2 separate regions of the Homo sapiens genome follow, and region 2 is linked to region 1. Evidence: promoter capture Hi-C in 16 types of primary human blood cells and fetal thymus (Javierre and others, 2016). All regions are on one chromosome and are shown on one strand. Each heading gives the region's core, a stretch centred on a gene start or on the middle of the fragment in contact. The rest is flanking DNA. Distances are from core to core; before and after follow the strand shown.

Region 1 (6,039 bases), core at 3,351-5,850:
TCCAAAACTTTGGTTTCATCAGTACCTGGAGCAAAGCTTCTGGCAGAAACACAAATCCTCATCAGGGGAGAGGCACAGGATCAACTCACGGTTATAAACTGGACTCCTGCTCTGACGGGTAGCAGCCATCAACTTTGCCCGATTCTCATAATTCTGAAGGGTCACCAAGGAGTTGCTACCAGCCACTGTACTTAAAGTGGTGTCACAGGATTACAAAATAGAAGAAAGTCTTTCTTCTCTGACTAATATGTTAGTGCTCTAGTAAGCATCAAAGATGAAAGACACACAATGTGAGCCTGCTTTGGCCAACACAAAGTACTTACAGAATTTTCAGGCCTACTTCCAGCCCTGGAGACAAATTTCCCATCATTCTTCATTACAGGAGTAATCATCCTCATAGGGCTGTAATAGCTTTTTTTTTTTTTTAGATGGAGTCTCGCTCTATCACCCAAGCTGGAGTGCAGTGGCTCAATCTTGGCTCACTGCAATCTCCACGGCTTGGGTTCAAGCGATTCTCCCGCCTCAGTCTCCTGAGTAGCTGGGATTACAGGCGTGTGCCACCACGCCCAGCTAGGTTTTGTATTTTTTTTAGTAGAGACAGTGTTTCATCATGTTGGTCAGGCTGGTCTTGAACCCCTGACCTCATGATCTGCCCACCTCTGCCTCCCAAAGTGCTAGGATTACAGGTGTGAGCCACCACGCCTGGCCGTAACAGCTTTTTTTTTTTTTAAGACCAGAATGAAATTCACAACAGTAAAGAATAGAACTGAAGAGAATAAGGAAAAGAAAAAAGGGGCTGAGGGAGAAGGAAAAGAAAAGAGAGTTTAAAAAGGTAGAGAAGGTAAGACTCCAGGCATTCTAAACACTACCAAAATGTACAGATCTATTTTATGTGCTCTGCAATGACAAAAAAAAAAAAAAAAAAAAAAAAAAATCCCATGTGAGTTTGACCTGTTTTTGCTGTGTCTACTGGAATGTAGCTGTTTGCACCTAACTTCAAGAAGTAAACACTTTTTTTCAGACTTTCTCCTTTGTAAAACAGGAATTCTCACAATGACTTTAATCATGATGTTACATGTAACATGCAATAATAGTGTTTGGTAAGAATATTTGAAAACAGTCCAATGAAGCTACAAGTTCGCAGGTGTAGACAGTGTTTATCTGGAGGCAAAACACACTTAAAATATTTCTTAGGGATGTTTCTCCCAGTAGCTTAAGTGCTTACTTCATGGGTGCTTTGTTCTAGAGTTAGAAGATAGGGCAAAACAAAATGTAGTTATATTTTTCTATGTATCTTTGCCAGTATTTTCAAGGGTTTAGCCAAATCTTTATTCTCTACTTCATTTACCTCTCACACTACCTCGTTTTTTTAATTATGTTCAATTTACATTTAAAAACTTTTTTCTATATTTTATTTTATTTTACATATCAGATTTTTATCCTAAAACATTGTCTTCCAAAAGTTCCCAGCAGCTTAGCTTGTTTTACATAACCGAAGTGGGAATTCATATTTGTCTTAGTCTTTTACATTTCTAATTAAACATACATGACAATTTAAAAATACGTTTTTATCTAGAGTAATGTGTGATTTTCATGGCACCTTTTATGTTATTTATTGATATGACTTGGCTGTGTCCCCACCCAAATCTCAACTTGAATCATATCCACCAGAATTCCTATGTGTTGTGGGAGGGACCCAGGGGAAGTAATTGAATCATGGGGGTGGGTCTTTCCCATGCTAATCTCATGGTAGTGAATAAGTCTCACAAGATCTGATAGTTTTCTCAGGGGTTTCCACTTCTGCTTCCTCCTCATTTTATCTTGCTGCCACCATGTAAGAAGTGCCTTTTACCTCCCACCATGATTCTGAGGCCTCTCTAGCCATGTGGAACTGTAAGTCCAATTAAACCTCTTTTTCTTCCCAGTCTTTATCAGCAGTGTGAAAGCAGACTAATACAGTAAATTGGTACTAGTAGAGTGGGGTGTTGCTGAAAAGATACCCAAAAATGTGGAAGTGACTTCAGAACTGGGTAACAGGCAGAGGTTGGAACAGTTTGGAGGGCTCAGAAGAGACAGGAAAATGTGAGAAAGTTTGAACCTCCTAGAGACTTGTTGAATGGCTTTGACAAAAATGCTGATAGTGATATGAACAATAAGGTCCAGGCTGAGGTGGTCTCAGACAGAGATGAGGAACTTGTTGGGAACTGGAGCAAAGGTGATTCTCGTTATATTTTAGCAAAGAGACTGGCAGCATTTTGCCCCTGCCCTAGAGATTTGTGGAACTTTGAACAAAGTACCTGAGAGATGATTTCAGGTATCTGGTATTGCTGAATCTGGAAGATTGAATGCTTAGCAAAGCATTCAAAAGGTGACTTGGGTGCTGTTAAAAGCATTCCATTTTAAAAGGGAAACAGAGCATGAAAGTTTAGAAATTTGCAGCCTGATGATGCAGTAGAAAAGAAAAACCCATTTTTTGAGGAGAAATTCAAGCCAGCTGCAGAAATTTGTATAAGTAGCAAGGAGCCTAATGTTGATCCCCAAGACCATGGGGAAAATGTCTCCAGGGTATGTCAGAGACCTTCACGGCAGCCCCTCCCATCACAGGCCCAGAGGCCCAGGAGGAAAAAGTGGTTTTATGGGCTAGGCCCAGGGTCCCCGTGCCATCTGTAGCCTAGGGACTTGGTGCCCTGTGTCTCAGCCAATCTAGCCATGACTGAAAGGGGCCAACATAGAGCTCGAGCTGTGGCTTCAGAGGGTGCAGGCCCCAAGCCTTGGCAGCTTCCACATTGCTGTTGAGCCTGCAGGAGCACAGAAGGCAAGAATTGAGGTTTGGAAACCTCCACTTAGATTTCAGAAGATGTATGGAAACACCTGGATGCTTAGGTAAAAGTTTGCTGCAGAAGTAAGGACCTCATGGAGAACCCCTGCTAGGGCAGTGTGGAAGGGAAATGTGGGCTGGAGCCCCCACACAGAGTCCCTCCTGGGGCACTGCCTAGTGGAGCTTTTAGAAGAGAGCCACCATCCTCCAAACCCCAGAATGGTAGCTCCACTGACAGCTTGTGCCATGCACCTGGAAAAGCCACAGACACTTAATGCCAGCCTGTGAAAGCAGCCAGGAGGGAGGCTGTACCCTGCAAAGCCACAGGGTCAGAGTGCCCAAGACCATGGGAACCCACCTTTTGCATCCACATGACCTGGATGTGAGACCTGGAGTCAAAGGACATCATTTTGGAGCTTTAAAATTTGACTGCCCTGCTGGAATTAGGACATGCAGGGGTCCTGTAACTCCTTTGTTTTGGCCAACTTATCCCACTTGCAGTGGCTTTGCCCAATACCAGTATCCCCATTGTATCTAGGAAGTAACTAGCTTGTTTTTGATTTTACAGACTCATAGGTGGAAGGGATTTGCCTTGTCTCAGATGAGACACTGGACTGTGGACTTTTGGATTAATACTGAAATGAGTTAAGACTTTGGGGGACTATTGGAAAGGCATGATTGGTTTTGAAATGTGAGGACATGAAGTTTGGAGGGACAAGTGGTGGAATGATATGGTTTGGCTCTGTCTCCACCCAAATATCAACTTGAATTGTATCTCCCAGAATTCCCACATGTTGTGGGAGGGATTCAGGGGGAGGTAATTGAATCATGGGTACGGGTTTTTCCCATGCTAATCTCATGATAGTGAATAAGTCTCATAAGATCTGATCAGTTTATCAGGGGATTCTACCTTTACTTTCTCCTCATTTTCTCTTGCCACCGCAGTGTAAGAAGTGCCTTTCACCTCCTGCCATGATTCTGAGGCCTCCCCAGCCATGTGGAACTGTAAGTCCAATTAAACCTCTTTTTCTTCCCAGTTGGGTATGCTTTTATCAGCAGCATGAAAACGGACTAATACATTTATGAGGAATATTTTTTATTAATTTCTGCTGGGTTTTAATTATTTGATTAAAGATACTAAGAGGAAGATATAAATAACTGCTGATTGAAATGTTTCATTCTGGAAATCAGAGTATTTCCCTTGTTTTCAACAAATTCTCAAAGCCTTCAAGCACTCTGGAAACTTTCTGCTATAGGAAGAAGATATTCCTCTTTTTATGATGGATGAAAAATAAATGGAATATAGCCACAAGATGAATAAGTAGCCCAATATATTTTCAGGTACCTATTAATATATCACAATTTGAATATGATTTTTCCCAAATCAATGGATAGTAGAGAGTACATATTTAAATAATTGTTTTTATTATCTTAGAATATGAGTAGCTCATTTACCTATGGCAAATTTTTAGTGTTATTCCCAAAACCTCTATAGAAACGAAGATTTAGAAATAGCTGTTTACTTGTGAAATACTTATCACTTTCTATTATAAAAGTATAAACTAGTTTATAGTCCATATTCAACGAGAACATTGAAAGATTAAAGTATGCTATTTTATTTTTGCTAGTCCTTTGTAGTTAATATGCTAAAACTGAGTAAGGGAAATACAGTGTTCACTCAGGTAAACTGTAGTTTACCTGAGTGAACATTGGCCTGCAGTTACATGTGAGGTCATTTATGATGAGCAAACAATGGATTAGGTAACAATGAGGAAAATTCTAGAAGTTTGAGTTTGTGTGCTTACTAGCAACCACTTTCAGCGTTTCTGCAAAGCTAGAGAAGGTATCTTCTAATTTAAATGTCTTTAAGAATTATCTATTGCGTAATATACTGTCAACAGGAGGTCAGTTTTAAAGGAATACTACTGATAGCCTGAAAGACTGTGGAAAAGAAATTATTTTTCCCCCTTACACACTGATAGTTCTTGTATTTGCATTCCTGAAATTCATATATATTTTTCAAAAAAAAAAAACCATTGGATTAGCAGCAAGAGAGTTGAAAATGGCAGAAGTTGGGAATGACTGCTATTTCTTTTTTAATTCCACATGCATAAAGGTAAATATTGTACAATTGACAGTACTTCACATGCTTAATCTTTTTAGTAGAATGAAGGGAGATATGGCAATAACTTGTATTGCTGAACAAAAATTTACTATTTTCTTGCAAGATATCTTATATTTGTAAAATCTGGAGTAACAGCTTATCATGTATTTTTGACATACTGAATTTCTCTGAAGAAATCTGAGATAATTTAAAATTATTATTTGTTTGAAACTACCCTTATATATACCAGTTATATGTCTATAGCTTTTGAATCTTCATGTGGCACTTTTGCCTATATTATGACACCTTGAGACATTAAATTCCTAATATTAAAACATCATAGGTTACAAGATATTGTTTTAGTTAATATGATTCCAGTCATTATAATTCAAATAGTTGAATTCAGGTAAGTGTCAATCTTAGTGTAATAAATCTGTTTTCCTATTTGAAATTTATTAACCCAATTACTGAATTTTCCTCTGTCAAAAGTCTAAGTAATAACAAATATTTAAATATCATTAAAAAAGAAAATTAATATAAACAAATTGGCCACATATAAATTAAACTTTATAAAGTTAAATGGGAAAAACTGAGAATTCCTCCAATGTATTAGGATGTATAGATCTTAGTAAAACCAGATAAAGGTAGAAACTCAATATTTGGAGCTTTGTGCTCATGCAAGAAATAATCCAGTGAAAAAGATGATATGTCTGGTTTCAAGTGTTTCCTCTCTGTTAGGAAACCTGAATGGAGTCAACCTCTCTGACCACAGAAATTGGATTCACTTCTATTACCTGTTAGATTAAATGCTAGGATAATAAAGAATAATAACAGATTTCATGTCCCAGGTGGGCAGAGTGTTTTGTCTATTTCACTGCTGTATCCCCAAGTACTTAGCAGAGTGGCTAATGAGTAAGTTACCAGTAAATAATTAAATGAATAAATAATAATAATAGCTCACAATACCTTATATCACATCATTTTTACAGCTAACCTGTAAGGAAAGTAGTTTTTATTTCCTGTATACAGATGAGAAAACTGAAGCACAGAGAGTATGAGTTAAGTATTAACTTTGTGACAATGGGCAAGTGGTGGCGCCCAGGGTTTCAAATACCAG
Region 2 (3,014 bases), core at 515-3,014, 87 kb before region 1:
TAATAACCTGAAGGAGATAAGTGAGTGTCAGTGGGTTCAGTCCTGAATCTGAAATAGACAAAAACAAAACAAAACAAAATAACAAAAACCAAGCAAACAAAAAAGAAAAAAACCTTAGAATTATGGAATTTTTGAAAAGTTTTATAGTATAGTATTTTAATTTCTAGACAGCACCAATATGTTGTTATTAATAATAATAAAACTTAGTAGTTTTTATGTTAATATATGTTACTCAACATTTTCCCTTTCCTTAAGGACTATGCATTGAAAAGCTTTTCTTGTAAGTTATTATTATTATTATTATTATTAATATTTGAGATGGAGTCTGTCTTGTTCTATTGCCCAGGCTGGAGTGCACTGGTGCGATCTTGCTCATTGCAACCTCCGCCTCCCGGGTTCTAGTGATTCTTGTGCTTCAGCCTCCTGAGTAGTTGAGACTACAGGCGTGAGCCACCACGCCTGACTTATTTTTGTATTTTTAGTAGAAACAGGGTTTCACCATGTTGGCCCAGGCTGGTCTTGAACTCCTGACCTCAAGTGATCCATCCACTTTGGCTCCCCAAAGTGCTGGAATTATAGGCGTGAGCCACCATGCCTGGCCTTAAATTATTCTTTTCTAAGTGAAAGTAATGTTTTATTGAATATAAATTAACATCTTTCTTGGGTTTATTTTACTTGAGCTAAAGAGAACAGTTGGTTAAGTTTTATAATAGCCATTGCAGTGCTTTTTTGTAAGAAGACCACACAGAAGGACTGTCTTTTTCACTTGCCCCAAATCCCCAAGCACGTATATGAGTAATAGCAGAGTGGTTCTTTTTAGCATTATGATTTCTATAATACATCCAAAACTTTCTCAAGAAAAAACTTCATGATTTATTAGTACAATAATCAGTTTACTCATTACTCATCATTTATATTTACTTTATATGTCTTTTAACTGGTGCTTATTAAGTAGCACTTTAATATAGAATAGGCAAAGAATGGTAGAGAAGATGAAATTCAAAAATTAGGTTCTCACATTATTAATAGTTCATTAAAAGTGAGCTAAATGAGAAGCTTGTATTGGCTATGTAGAATTTTGGAGGGATTTTGGAAACAATTATTCTACCTTTGCATTAAAACTTGATTGTAGGTTTTAAGAATTAAAGTGTTGGAATAGTAGGAGGGTTATTTTAATGTTTTTAGTTTGTTAATTCTCTTATATATAGGATTAACCACTGAGGACCTGAACCTAACTGAAAACATTTCTCAAGGAGATAGAATAAGTGAAAGAAAATTGGATTTATTGAGCCTCAAAAATATGAGTGAAGCACAATCAAAGGTAATAGTAAAGTATTGCAAAGAGAGTAAAGGAAAATATTTTTTTTTTTTTTTTTTTTTGAGACGGAGTCTCGCTCTGTCTCCCAGGCTGGAGTGCAGTGGCGCGATCTCGGCTCACTGCAAGCTCCGCCTCCCGGGTTCATGCCATTCTCCTGCCTCAGCCTCCCAAGTAGCTGGGACTACAGGCGCCCGCCACCACGCCCGGCTAATTTTTTGTATTTTTAGTAGAGACGGGGTTTCACCGTTTTAGCCGGGATGGTCTCGATCTTCTGACCTCGTGATCCGCCCGCCTCGGCCTCCCAAAGTGCTGGGATTACAGGCGTGAGCCACCGCGCCCGGCCAGGAAAATATTTTTATTGTGTTTTCATTTCTTCCCCCTTTATCTCATTCTTGAACATCTAATCTTATTATTGTTGTTAAATAAGTAGAGGGAAATATTTGCTTATTTAACCTGTTGATTCAAAGATTGATTAATGAGACATTATTTACTCTGAATACAGATTAGGAGTTCAGATAAAGCAGAGCTGCTGCATAGGAGATCATCATTCAATACCCCACAGTCAGATCAGAATGAGACAGAAGAGAATATGACCATAGGATCATTATCAAGAATGTTATCTGAAATTCACCATAGTGTAGAAAGTGGAATGCATCCTTTTGTCCCTTTAACTAGACTTTCTTCATCCATGCAAGTTAAAGAGAATTCAACTCCAGAAACTATTACAATAAGAGAGATTTTTAAAGCACCATGTCTGCAGTCTTCAAGAAATCTAGAATCGTTAGTCAGCACCTTTAGTAGGGAAAGCCATGAAGAAATAAATGACATATGCCTTTTTTCTGATGACTGTATGAAGAAGGTGTCAAGAAGCCATCAAGCACTAGAGAAGACTAGTTTTGTACAAAAAAGCAATTCATCTTTTCATGGCTTATCAACAGCTTCAGACATAATGCAGAAGTTATCACTTAGGCAAAAATCTGCAATATTTTGTCAACAAATTCATGAAAATAGAGCTGACATGGATAAATCACAAGTAGCAACATTAGAAGAAGAACAGGTTCATTCCCAAGTAAAGTATGCTGATATCAATTTGAAAGAAGATATAATAAAAAGTGAAGTACCCTTACAGACAGAGATATTGAAAAATAAGCTTAAGGTTAATCTTCCAGACCCTGTGTCTATTACTGCACAATCAAAATTATCTCAGATAAATTCTCTTGAAAATCTTATAGAACAGTTACGGAGAGAGCTAGTATTTCTTAGATCTCAGGTGAGTTTTTCTCCAAATTATATTTCTGTGGTTGTTCTTTTATGACGTCTCTAACAAAGTTCTGTAACAATTATAGTTAGAATATTTTTGTTTGCACTTTAACATCAGTTATACACATTGTACTTTTTAAAATCTAAAATGCAGTACATTGATATGAACTCATTGACTTGTCTAATTTATTAAATTTTTCTTTAGAATGAAATCATAGCACAGGAATTCTTGATCAAAGAAGCAGAGTGTAGAAATGCAGATATAGAGCTTGAACATCACAGAAGCCAGGCAGAACAGGTAGTGTAAAGGCAGAACATTAAAAGAGATGATTGTGGTACTAAAGACAAAAACCGTTATATCTTTTTGCCTCTTACCATGGATGTTGGGAGAGGGAGAAAGTGGGATTAAGATCACCATCTGCTTTACTGTTTAGAT

What was found. Contacts are between HindIII fragments. The CHiCAGO score rates a contact against its expected background, and 5 or more counts as called.
Region 2: a contact is called between a fragment that was not itself captured here and the fragment with the promoter of C12orf50 in region 1, in 1 of 17 cell types (naive CD4 T cells). The highest score is 5.0, in naive CD4 T cells.

The regions. Positions count from the first base shown.
Region 1 is chr12:88,027,962-88,034,000 of GRCh38, reverse strand. C12orf50 (chromosome 12 open reading frame 50) reads left to right here and starts at 4,600. Exons shown (of 13, transcript NM_152589.3): 1 at 4,600-4,661. It overlaps LOC107984542 (a long non-coding RNA gene), which reads left to right. Exons shown (of 3, transcript XR_007063395.1): 2 at 1-290; 3 at 733-908. The HindIII fragment of the contact is 7,634 bases long and covers 39-6,039 here.
Region 2 is chr12:88,115,340-88,118,353 of GRCh38, reverse strand. CEP290 (centrosomal protein 290) reads left to right here. Exons shown (of 54, transcript NM_025114.4): 18 at 1,209-1,321. Among named protein-coding and RNA genes, the nearest start is that of CEP290, 25 kb to the left of the region's middle. The HindIII fragment of the contact is 1,412 bases long and covers 1,059-2,470 here.